Regions from separate parts of the Homo sapiens genome. Here region 1 is linked to region 2. The links are contacts of gene promoters, found by promoter capture Hi-C in blood cells and fetal thymus (Javierre and others, 2016). All regions are on one chromosome and are shown on one strand. Each heading gives the region's core, a stretch centred on a gene start or on the middle of the fragment in contact. The rest is flanking DNA. Distances are from core to core; before and after follow the strand shown.

The links. The method cuts DNA at HindIII sites, captures the fragments that hold promoters and counts their contacts. A CHiCAGO score of 5 or more calls a contact.
Region 1: a fragment that was not itself captured here is called in contact with the fragment with the promoter of XPO5 in region 2 in 10 of 17 cell types (erythroblasts, M1 macrophages, neutrophils and 7 more); the score reaches 10.6 in erythroblasts.

The regions. Positions count from the first base shown.
Region 1 is chr6:44,075,168-44,081,489 of GRCh38, forward strand. No RefSeq gene overlaps it. Among named protein-coding and RNA genes, the nearest start is that of SCIRT, 3.7 kb to the left of the region's middle. RefSeq lists an enhancer at 496-565. The HindIII fragment of the contact is 7,345 bases long and covers 1-6,047 here.
Region 2 is chr6:43,571,568-43,577,319 of GRCh38, forward strand. XPO5 (exportin 5) reads right to left here and starts at 4,471. Exons shown (of 32, transcript NM_020750.3): 1 at 4,193-4,471; 2 at 1,913-2,034; 3 at 939-1,011. The coding sequence starts at 4,297. It overlaps POLH (DNA polymerase eta), which reads left to right and starts at 4,618. Exons shown (of 11, transcript NM_006502.3): 1 at 4,618-4,873. RefSeq lists a silencer at 4,418-4,617 and an enhancer at 4,638-4,887. The HindIII fragment of the contact is 3,950 bases long and covers 3,458-5,752 here.

The DNA of each region.
Region 1 (6,322 bases), core at 1,125-3,624, 500 kb after region 2:
CCTCCAATTGACAAACCTCTGCTCCACCCCACCCCACATACACAGAGGATGGCCCAAGCCCAGGTCCCTGGCATGGTGGGGCAGGGGCCTGAGTCACAGCCTGGCGTGACCCTGCCCAGTCCCCAGGAATGGCCAGCTCGTCCAGAGGTGAGACCCAGGTCAACAATCCATCAGTCTGCCTCCTGCCACCAGGTATCCTCCCCATCACGTCCTACACGTGGGGTGGGCCAGGACAGTGCTGGGCAGAGCTAGTGTTGGGCCTGTGCCTGGGGGCCACCAAGGGGGCCCGGAGAAAAGAATGGAGGGGTTTTCACTTCCTGAGCAGCAGGAGGAGCCAGCTGGGGTTAAAGACAGGAGGGACTGGTTGGGCCTACAGGCATTTGGAGTCTCTCCCTGCCTGCTGGGTGAGGGAGGCAGCAGGTGCCAAGAACTGCTAGCTTCTAGGACCTGACCCTCAAGTTGCTTCTCCTGCTGAGGGGCTTCTAGGGTCACCCTCAGGGCCTTGACATCTGCACACATCTGCACAGGCCCTTCACCAGGGACTTAACCTCCAAAGGCAGCTCCTGCTCCCAGCCTTCACAGGCCCCCCTAGGGCCCAAGTCCCCAGACCCAACCTCAGTCTGCAAGCTGGCCAAGTCAGAGGTCCTGGCTGCCTGGACCACTCCCAAGCAGTAAATGGCACTGTGGGCTTCCTCCATCCTGTCTTCCCCGCCCCACTTCATTGATTCACTGACTTCCAACTTACTGGTCAGGCCCCCTTCCAGACCCTGCCTGGATGAAGAGGACTCCCAGAAGCAGTGATTGAAGGCCTAGGAGGATACAGAGAGCCAGGTGCTTTAATTGGAGGTAATTAGTTAATTTACTCTGAAAGCAATGGGGCAGGGCGGGGACAGGGGGAGGAGAGGGGAGGGGAGGAGGTAGGGGGCTGTGACCTAACTGGGCTCAAACTCTCAAACTCTGGTCAGCCTCCTTCTGGACCACAGCAAACCTGTGTGTACCCACCCACTTAGGAGACCCTCTCCTGGGCCCCAGGTCAGAGCAAGACCCAAAGTGGACTAGGGTGGCTCTGCAGAAAAAGCAGGTGCCCTGGGGTGGTGGGAACAGGCCTTTTGAGGTTAGGGAGGTGTGGACTGGCATGAGGGAATTGGAGAGGTGCAAGGAGCTCTGGGATGGGAACTGGTCCCTCTCCTGTCACGTATAATTCCATCCCTCCCAAGGTCATTGCTGTCACCCAAGTTAGGGGCCCAGCCCCCTCCTTTGGTCAGTGAAGTCCCAGGGCAGCCCATTTTAAATACAACGGGGCCTGAAGGCTAACTTCTGGCCTTCCTGCTTCGGGAAATCATTCCAATAACCGGGAAAAAAGGGGGCCCGAGGACAGAGCCCCTGCCGGGCCCCAGGGGGAGTGTCGTCGGCTCCTTTGCGTCGCCGGCCGGCGGCGTGGCGGGGACTCTGGCCGGCAGCCTCCCGCGCCGTCCGGAGCAGCTGACCCGCTGGCGGTGGGCCAGGTCGCGGCGGGGCCTGGAGGCAGCAACGTGCGGCGCGGCATGTCGCGGGCGCCGCGGCAGGGAAATGTGGGGGCGGGCCGGCGCGCCCCCTCCCCCCCGCCTACGCTGGCCCATTCATAAAACCTGCAGGCGCTGCCCGGCCTGGCAGCCTTGGTCTCCTAATTGCAAACTCATTAAGGAGTTTGCATCTCATTTGCATGGAAATCATTTCCTGGCCCTAAACAGAGAAACTTCCCGCCCCTCCACCAGCCCCTCTCTGCCCTGCTTTACCCATGCACAGTCTGGGAGAGGAGAGGGGGCATATCTCTGACCTGCGCCCCTTCCCTGGCCTCACCACCACCCTCCCACTTTAGGAGTTGGGGAAGGGATTGGCAGAACACCCACCCAGCCAGGAGCCCTGCCTGTGCCCCAGGTGAGCCGGCCCTGCCCTAGTGGGTCCAACTGAGGGGAGGTGCCTGCCAAGTCATTTGCCCCCCGGCCTGGCCGTGCCCAGGGAAGGGAGGAGGCGGTCGGCAGTTGGCCCCAGCAGCTGGTTGTACCTGGCAGGAGGTGGGTGAGGCTTTTCGTGCCCAGCCTCACGTACGTGCCCTGCCATAGGCCGTGCCCCCACCCCCACACCCCTCACCCCACAGAACAAGCGCCTAGTGACTGCAGAAACAGACACCCAGTCATGGCACACAAAGGCACCCACACCAGGCCAGCCATCATGGCTGCCCCCCTGGCAGCCACCCTGGAGGGCAGACAGATGCCTTCACAAGCCATTTTGTCTTTCTCCAGCTTGGTGCCAGGACTGGGGGTGGGGGAAAGGGTTTCTCCTGAGACTTCTCTGAGTAAGGGGGCCCACAGAGGGGTTTCCTTATGTACCCCAGCTGTGGCCTCTTGCCCCCTCTCTCCTGTAACCCATGTTTACAGAGGCCTCCAAGTGCTCTACCCTGCATGGGGACCTGCCCAGGCGAGGGGGTCACAGGAGCCTCCAACCCAGGAGGGGAAGTGAGAGATAAAGCCCCTAAGGAAGGGACACCTAAGTGCCTCCCCAACCAGGGTCTGTCCTTCGTGTCCCAAGTGTGTGTAGTGGAGGGAGTGCTCCCCAGTTTCCTGGGGGTTGAGGTGGGGCGGTATTCTAAACCTTTGGAAATGGAATAGAACTACCTAAAGTATATGAAATTAGATACTACTTGGGACACTATGTCTTGGTTCTGTATGTCCTGGGACAGTGTAAAAAGTGATCACAAAATTTTCAACATCACAGTCTAAAATAAAAACCTGCCTCTTGTCTGCCTCCTCAGACATAAACCTGCTTACGCTTCCCATCTGCCCACACTCCCACCTGCTGTATCTGAAGTTTCTCCCTTCCTTTGCTAGGGCATAAAGGGGTGGGCAAGGATGTTCTGGAACACTGACCACACATCCGTCCTGAGTATGGCTGGACTGACCCTACCCTCCCAGCTCCTGGAGCAGTTGGGTTCCAAGTGCCATATGTGTGCGTGGTTCAGGGGTACTGGAAGAAAGTTTTAGAATGCCTATTTATTTTTCATCGAATCCTTTTTTCATTTAGTGTGAGTGTGTTTTACAAGGTAAACTATATAAAAACATACTCATCTGACGGGTGCGTACTCAACAATCTTTTTTATTGCTAAGGGCACATGATCAAAAAAACTTCGGAGGTCACTGGCCTAGACTTCAGGTGGGGCAGCTGTGGGCAGGGGATGGCTTGTCTTGTCCATCTAAGTATCCAGCCTGACACATGACTAGTTCAGAGCCTGGCAGGGAGCAGAGGTCAGGGACACAGTATTGAATGAATGAAGTCCACCCCTAGAACTGACAGATGAGGAAACTGAAATAATTCTGGGGCGGGGAGATTGCTCAGAGGAGGACATGGGCAGGTTGAGAGAGTCTCCCCTCATTGCTGCTATGTCTGCAGCCTGCCCGTGTCCAACACCCAGCACCCACACAAACCTTACTTCTACCCACCCCAGGGAGCACAGCTCCCTCCTCTGCCTACCAGCAGAGTGGCCACCTGTCTTGAGCTTCTTACTGGATCCTGATTAGCAGAGCCAGACAGGGTTGTCACCTGCCATATCCCTCTACGTGGCAGAAAGTCTGTTGCCAGCTTTGTATCCTAGAACTCTCTGGAAGTCAATCTGGTGTAGGAGAAAGAATTTAGGCTCCAGACAGGCGTCAGTCCTCATCCAGCTTGGTGACCTTGGGCACAACACATAACTGGTATAAGCCTCAGTTTCCCAATCTGTATCTTGGGACCAATATTTGTACTTACTGTACAGAGTTGTTGTGAATGTTGAGTAGCCCACTGTGTGTGTAGGCTCTGGCATATACTAGGTGTTCAGTAAGATTCCTGTCCCTCTGTGTGCAGCAGGTGCCCCATGAAGAATCTGTTGAATTGTGATTTGACATCAGCATGGGAAGGAGAATTCCGAAGGCAGACAAATGAGCCTTTGCTCCCTCCTCTGCCTGCTGGCACGGTGCCCACCAGTCTGAGTTCTGTCCTGCACCTTCCTGCAGAAATGAAGCAGCCACTCTGGCAGCCTTGGGTCCCCTCCAGGCTCATCCACTCTGTGGTGGGGTGTCCTCCTCCTTTTCTCCCTTACAGCTCCTTTCCCTTTTTCTGTGCTGCCTTCACTTCAAGCATGAGCTGAGGGTGACTCCTGGTGGCCATTCATATAACTGCAGAATCCTGACCATTGTCACCGCCACCTGGAAGTGCATGAAGTCGAGTGTGCAAGGAAGCCATTCTTCACACTTTCCCTACACCTCCCAACTCCCTGTCAGGGCCCTGGGGAGCCTCAGGGGTGGCCACTCCCCGGGGACTCCACCCTCCGAAGTTCCACCTCTAAGGGCTTCACTTGCCTGATGGGTGGGGACGATCAAGGAGGCCTCTGCCCAGATCCTGCAGCACCAGGCCTGCCCCAGGCAAAAAGCAGGACAGTGGCTACTCTTCCCTCAAGTGCCACTGAACACTTTGCAGGCATCATTTTGTCCAATTCTTATCACTGGAGCCCATTATCACAAAGAAGAAACCAAGGTTAAGCAACTTGCCAAGGGTCACACAGCTCCTCAGTGCCCAAATGGTGAAATGAATACAGGTGACACTCAGTGGGACACCAGACCAGCCCCTGGGGGACAGAAGAGGCCTATAGGAAGGAGCCTGCCATGGGGTTAGAAGCCTCAGATTCTGACCCGACCTTGCCCCAACTAGTGGGGTGGCCTCCATCAAGGGCCTCTGCTCACTGAGCCTCAGCCTCCTCGATGGCATCATGGGGCGGAGGACAGAGCAGGATTCTCAGATTGGCTGTACATGGGAATCACTGGGAGGATTTTTCAAATACCCATGTTTGCCCAGCCCTGACTAAGGAAATCAAAATTGGTAGGGGTTGGCTAAGACAAAGGTAATTTTAAGAAAATATTTCTAGGTGATTCTATAGGCAGCCAGGGTTGAGAATGGGTCCTCTAGGAGTTCCCCATCTTCAGACTTCCCAGCCCTCTAGAGGTCAGCTCCCCAGGGCTCCCCTCTGTCCTAAGGGCTCTCCAGATAAACTTTTTTTTTTTTTTGAGACGGAGTCTCGCTCTGTTGCCCAGGCTGGAGTGCAGTAGCGCAATCTCAGCTCACTGCAAGCTCCGCCTCCCGGGTTCACGCCATTCTCCTCCCTCAGCCTCCTGAGTAGCTGAGACTACAGGTGCCTGCCACCACACGTGGCTAATTTTTTTTGTTTTTTTTTAGTAGAGGCGGGGTCTCACCGTGTTAGCCAGGATGGTCTCAATCTCTTGACCTCATGATCCGCCTGCCTCAGCCTTCCAAAGTGCTGGGATTACAGGCGTGAGCCACCGCACCCGGCCCAGAGAAACTATCTTAGCTTGTCTACCCAGACCCACAAGAAGCTGCCTCCCAACCACCCAAGGGGACACAGGCCCATCAACCCTTTCCAGAGGGGGCACAGTAGGCTTGAGACTCTTGAGTCTCTGACCCCCAGCCTGGCCTCTGGGGTGGGGGGAGAGAAAGTCATAGGGAGCTTAACCTCAACAGGATGAAGGCGCCATAATTAGGGTCAGGCGGTTGGCTCAGCCTGCGGAAATCCCCAGCTTAGTAGGGATGGGGAGTGGCACTGCAGCCTGCGGGAGGGTTCAGGGCAGAAGTGAGGGGGCAGGGGGAGCCCAGGCACATGGAAACCCAGGACCTAGGCCCCAATTGCATCCTGAGAGGGCCCACTGGGGGCTTCTCAACACAGTTCACTCCCTCCCTGGGGTTGCTGAACCCCAGGGAGGGAGGGAAAGGCTGACCAGCCCCCCAACCCCAGAGACCCTACTGCTCCCTCAGGCTGGGGTGCATCAGGATCATCCCCCTACCCCAGCCTTTGTCAGGAGGAGGAGGGCACCGGTGGGAAAAGGCTACGTGAGTGTTCCCAGGGCGACCCAGGCTTTTCTCCTGACTGTAATCCTCAGGCCTTGAGAGAGGGATCGCTTTCCACTGTGGAATGTAACAAAGGGGACAAAATGGGGCAGGGGAGGGGGGCAGAAGCCAGGGAGGGAAGCTTGCAGGGTGGTACTTTTAGCCCCCAAAAGGCCCTCCAGGAGGCAGCTGCACAGAGAGAACCCCCCTGCCCCCATGACTCCCTGAGCCTGTCATCCAGCTCACCCCAGGGCACAGGGTCTCATCCTGGGTTGTCCAGGTGTCCCCCCGCAGACTCCTGCCATGAATCCCAGTGCAGGGGGATTTGGATGATCACCTTTGCCAGCCACTCATTTTGCAGGGGAGGAAATATTCCAAGAGATGAAAACTAGCCAAGACCACGCAGCACCAGAAC
Region 2 (5,752 bases), core at 3,221-5,720:
GGTGGGAGGATTGCTTGAGGCCAGGGGTTTGAGACCAGACTAGCCTGGGAAACACAGTGAGACCCTGTCTCTCTAAAAACCAAAAACAAAATTAGCTGGGCATGGTACCACATGCCTATAATCCCAGCTACTTGGGAGGCTAAGGCGAGAAGATCACTTGAGCCCAGGAGTTCGAGGCTGCAGTGAGCTATGATCATGCTAATGCAATCCAGCCGGAGCAACAGAGACTCTGTCTCAAAAAAAAAAAAAAGTCATATTCTAATACTTGAAACAAATTCATTCTGCATACTTAAAATTCTGCATGTTTTTCATCATTAGTATCACATAGTAGTTGTTTGGAATAAAAGAAAATAGTGTTTCAATCTAATTTAGATCTAAGAATCTTATTGATTTGTTGAAAATATTTAATCCCCTCTGCCCTGTCTTTATAATTTAAAAAATAGAAGTCAATACATAAGCATGATTAATTAAACCTAGTAAGAGACATATGCTGAATTATGCTTTCTGCTTTTGTTTTGTTTTGTTTTTGAGATAGGGTCTTGCTCTGTTGCACAGGCTGGAGTGCCATGGCACCATCACAGCTCACTGCAGCCTGGACCTCCTGGGCTCAGAAAATCCTCCCACCTCAGCCTCCTGAGTAGCTGGGCCACAGGCATGCGCCACCACGCTCAGCTAATTTTTGCATTTTTGGTAGAGATGGGGTCTCACTGCATTGCCCAAGCTGCTCTCGAATTCTTAGATGCAGGTGATCCTCTTACCTTGGCTTCCCAAAGCGCTAGAATTACAGGTGTGAGTCACTGTGCCTGGCCTAAATTATGATTTCTTGTGCTGTCTGACCTATTTAGAAGCAGTGAATTTTTACACAAACTCCCTATTGAAGAAGTCACGCTTTGCCTAAACTACCTTGGAAACATGTCTCCCAACCACCCATTCCTTACATTTGCAATCAGCTCCATGACACTGTTCTTCAGATACACCTTCTCCAATCGAGACATGCCGTTCCACCGAAACCTGACCACCAAAATGCATAAAGTCAATAGAACCACTTTAGAAGTCTTGTCTTTACAAGAGAATAGCATGGATTTCTACATTTGATTACACTGGAGATTTCATTAAGAAATTATACTTTTGATTTTGTACCTGTCAATGAATGGGCAAAAATGATCTACATTTAACCAAAATACTAACACAAAAATTCTTGGGAAAAGGTTTTATATATGCAGTGGTCCATTAACTGGAATCCGCACAAGATTTGTACCACACGTCAGCTTTGCCTCATGATTTTATTGATGGGCCAAAAGTGAATATACATCTAGGTCAACTGCAACAATGTACTTGCTTTTCAGAAAATGCAGTTTTGACATCAGTCATTTTCTGTGCTGGCTTACAAAACAATTCTGGAAAAACTATGGCTAAGTCTTAAAGGCTACCTCTTCTGATAGGTGTTGAGGGTAGGACAATCAAGTTAGGATGGGTTTTCAGTTATTCTCATACAATCCTGCTTTGGATGTACCACCCAGAGAAGGCACACAAACTCAGAAAGACAGAGAGAAAAAAGAAAGCCACAGTGCCTAATCAGAGATTCATTGACCTATACATTGCATTACTCTAAAAAGGCTTCGAGGGCTAATGACATATAGTCAGAGCTCAGTAAGTATTGGCTAAATGGCAGGTAATATTTGTTGAATGGGTAATATGTACCACACACTTTACATGGATGAAGAAACTGAAGAAAAGAAAGGTTAAATCTTGAATGAGAGCTCCTGTGAGGTTCTGATAACATCTAGGGGATCATTCCTCTCTTCTTGGAGATTGCTCTTCTCTACTCACCTAAACAGCATCTCTATAGGTTATATAAGATATAAAGATCTGTTCTCTCAGACTTCAGTGGTAATGTCCAAGAGCTCCTTACTTGACAACGTGTTCCAGGATCTGAAGGCCAAAATGTCTGACGATGGCAACTTGTGTTTTCTCAGCCAACCTCAAGCCACAGGGGACACAGATAGGACACTTTTCTTTAAACTCCTCACAAAACTGAAAGAAGAAAAGTTAGTGTTTCCTTTCGAGGGCTGAGAGAATAGGGACTAAAAGAATTTCATCTTAAGAAACTCCAACCAGGGCCGGGTGCGGTGGCTCACACCTGTCCCAGCACTCTGGGAGGCTGAGATGGGTGGACTACTTGAGTCTAGGAGTCTGAGACTAGCCTAGGCAACATGGCGAAACCCCATCTCTATTAAATATATATATATATATATATTTTTTTTTTTTTTTTTTGAGACGGAGTCTCACTCTGTCGCCCAGGCTGGAATGCAATGGCATGATCTCGGCTCACTGCAACCTCTGCTTCCCAGGTTCAAGCAGTTCTCCTGCCTCAGCCTCCTGAGCCCATGTAGCTGGGACTACAAGTGCACGCCACCACACCCAGCTAATTTTTGTATTTTTAGTAGAAACAAGGTTTCATCATGTTGACCAGGCTGGTCTTGAACTCCTGACCTCAGGTGACCCACCTGCCTTGGCCTCCCAAAGTGCTGGGATTACAGGCGTGAGCCACTGTGCCCGGCCCACTAAAAATATTTTTTTAAATTAGCCGGGCATGGTGGCAGGTGCCTGTAATCCCAGCTACTCAGGAGGCTGAAGTGGTAGGAGAATCACTTGAGCTCGAGAAATCAAGGCTGAAGTGAGCCGAGATCTCACCACTGCACGCCAGCCTGGACAACCAGAGTGAGACCCTACTCAAAAAGAAACTCCAACCTAAGCTATATGTTTAAAGTTGCAAAACCTAGATCAATATTATGTGGATCTCCAAGCACAGTTGCTTTAAAAATATATATTTAATATAAAAATAAAAATATAAAATATATAAAAGTTACACATATATAACATTTCCTCCAAGTGGTGTTCACTCTATTTTATGTGTATATATTATATATATATTATGAATAAAGAACTGATAAACATTCCTTCCAGCGTGATGGTTCCAGATTTTTTCCATGCTACGGCCAACAGTAGCCCTACTAGTGTTGGAAAAAAATGGACACAAAGGAATAAGAAATTATTTGTTAGAGACATCCCCCTGACGTACATAGGGGTGAAATAACAATTTCTAGGGTTTCTTTTAAAAACCTTCGAGGCAGGGAGAGAGGATAGGCGGTGGAAAAAGTAAATGCGGTAAAATCTTTGATTGCTGAATTTAGGTGACAGGAACATGCAGAATCACTGTCGTATTCTCTCCACTTTTGTGTCTATTTTAAATATTAATAATAAAAACCAAACTAATGGAACCCAATTGTTTCTGATTCCAAACCCTGTGGCAGACATCTACATATTGTAACATTTCCTCCAAGTGGTGGTCACTCTCTTTTTTGAAGTTAACATCACTTTAAAAATGTACAGCACAAGTATTTTCTCCTAAATGGCCATTTCTCACAGCCCACACACGTTGTTTTATGGGCAAGTAAGCTTGAATTGTATTAACACCCCCAAACTGCAACATAAGTCAGTCCCAAGAGCAGAGCATTCGGGTCTCACGCAAACTACTTTCAGGAAACCAAAGTGCCCTTGTTAAAATGCAAAGTAAGTGGTAGAAGTTATCTTTGCGCAAAATAGCCTAAAAATATTACACTCAAAAACATGGGAGAAGTAGGGGTGCGAGAATTTCCCCGGAAAATGTCCAAGACACAAACGAAAGTTAGCGAGATGTTAAAGCATATAAGCATAAGGGTACCAGAGGGGCTGGAGCTCGGTCAGGGCCAGGGGAGTGGGCCAGCAGGAAAACGTTTAGTGCAGGAGAGACCATAAAGAACGAAGCTGGTGTTGGGGGCGGGATCTACACGTGCGCCTCGGGAAGGCGAGGGGATGTCGGGCTTGGGGAATGAAAATGGGCGAGGGTCATGTTGCGGACAAGAGTGCACAGAAGCGAGGAAAGGGGGAGGAGAGGGCTGTGGGAAGCTGCGGCGAGATGAGAAGCAGCATAGGGACCGGAGTGTCCCAGGCAAAGGACAGGAGCGGCGAGTAGAGAAGGCGGCGATTTGGGAGAGGCGCGGAGGGCCGCGAGGGGAAGGTCCCGGGGAGTTGGGAAAGGAGGTCCAGGGGCCGCGTGGGCGGGAGACTACCCCAGTTACAGGCGGCGCCGGAGCTGCTGGGGCTGGGAGAGGGTGTCGGGACCGGCCCAGGACGCCAGGACCCCAGCTACCTTGAGGGCTTCCAGCCGGTAGCGCTGGGTGGAGTTGGGGTCCATCATGACCGTCACCGCTTTCACCAGCTGCTCGCACAGCGCGTTTACTTGATCCATCGCCATGCCTAGCGCCACGCGCCGAGAGCGCACACCACTGCAGTCCCGGGACCACGAGGCACGACAGCTCCCTCGGCGAGACCACCCGTTGGTACCGGGCCGCGGCGGGCGGCGGGGGTGGGAAGCTGGAGGAGGAGCGTTAGCAGCAACTCGCGCTGGGAAGAAGCCGGCGCTGCGCACGCGCCCGGCCCGCCACTGCGCACGCGCCCGCGGAAGTGGCGGCTCCCGTGTGCAGGTTGAGCCTAGGTGGGCGGGGCGGGAGGCGGAAGGGCCGCGGTGCGCAGCCGCGTCAACGGCCCTTCGCAGCGGGCGCGCTGTCAGACCTCAGTCTGGCGGCTGCATTGCTGGGCGCGCCGCTCTCGTCTGATCCCTGCTGGGGACGGTTGCCCGGGCAGGATCCTTTACGATCCCTTCTCGGTTTCTCCGTCGTCACAGGGAATAAATCTCGCTCGAAACTCACTGGACCGCTCCTAGAAAGGCGAAAAGATATTCAGGAGCCCTTCCATTTTCCTTCCAGTAGGCACCGAACCCAGCATTTTCGGCAACCGCTGCTGGCAGTTTTGCCAGGTGTTTGTTACCTTGGTAAGAAAATTTAGAACCGTTCGCTGTCACTGTGTTCAGACTTTCTATGTTGCCTTGGCTATTGGTTTTATAATGTAGCAGTGACTGGGCCAAGGTTGCGTGAAATATAAATCATGCTAACAGGGATAAGGCCCTGGTACTGTCTTCTAAGATTTTTCTTGTAGAAAAAAGTATGTTTTTCCCTGTAGTTGTTAAACCTCTCTCTTGGAATTACTTTCCTGGATGTATTATTACCTGGTGGGCACTAAACTTGTTTTGTGCGGATTGGGGTAACTCGAGATGTTTAAAGGGAATAATTGCAATCAGTGAAGGTTTGTGCAGTTTTGATAATTGGCCAAGTGCTATGTATAAGGTTTCAAAGTAGTGTAATCCTTATCCAAAAGCATGGCTTGGGCAGAAAGTCTTCTTCATTTTCCATCTTTATAAAGCTCTTGGCCGGGCGCGGTGGCTCACGCCTGTAATCCCAGCACTTTGGGAGGCGGAGGCGGGCGGATCACCTGAGGTCAGGAGTTCGAGACCAGCCTCACCAACATGGTGAAACCCCGTTTCTACTAAACATACAAAAATTATGTTTGCATTTTTAGTATTTTTATACAGGCGTGGCGGTGCGCGCCTGTAATCCCAGCTACTCGGGAGGCTGAGGTGGGAGAATCGCTTGAACCCGGGAGGCGGAGGTTCAGTGAGCCGAGATCGCGCCTTTGCACTCCAGCCTGGGCGACAGAGCGAAACTCCGTCTCAAAAATAAATAAATAAAGCTCTTGCTTTCTCCAGTAAATACATAAACGGAAAACCTCAACAGCTTTATTATCTGTTAAAGTCTGCATGTCTGTTTTTGTGATTGTGTGCTTAGTAAATTGTGTGCTGAACATAAATCACTGC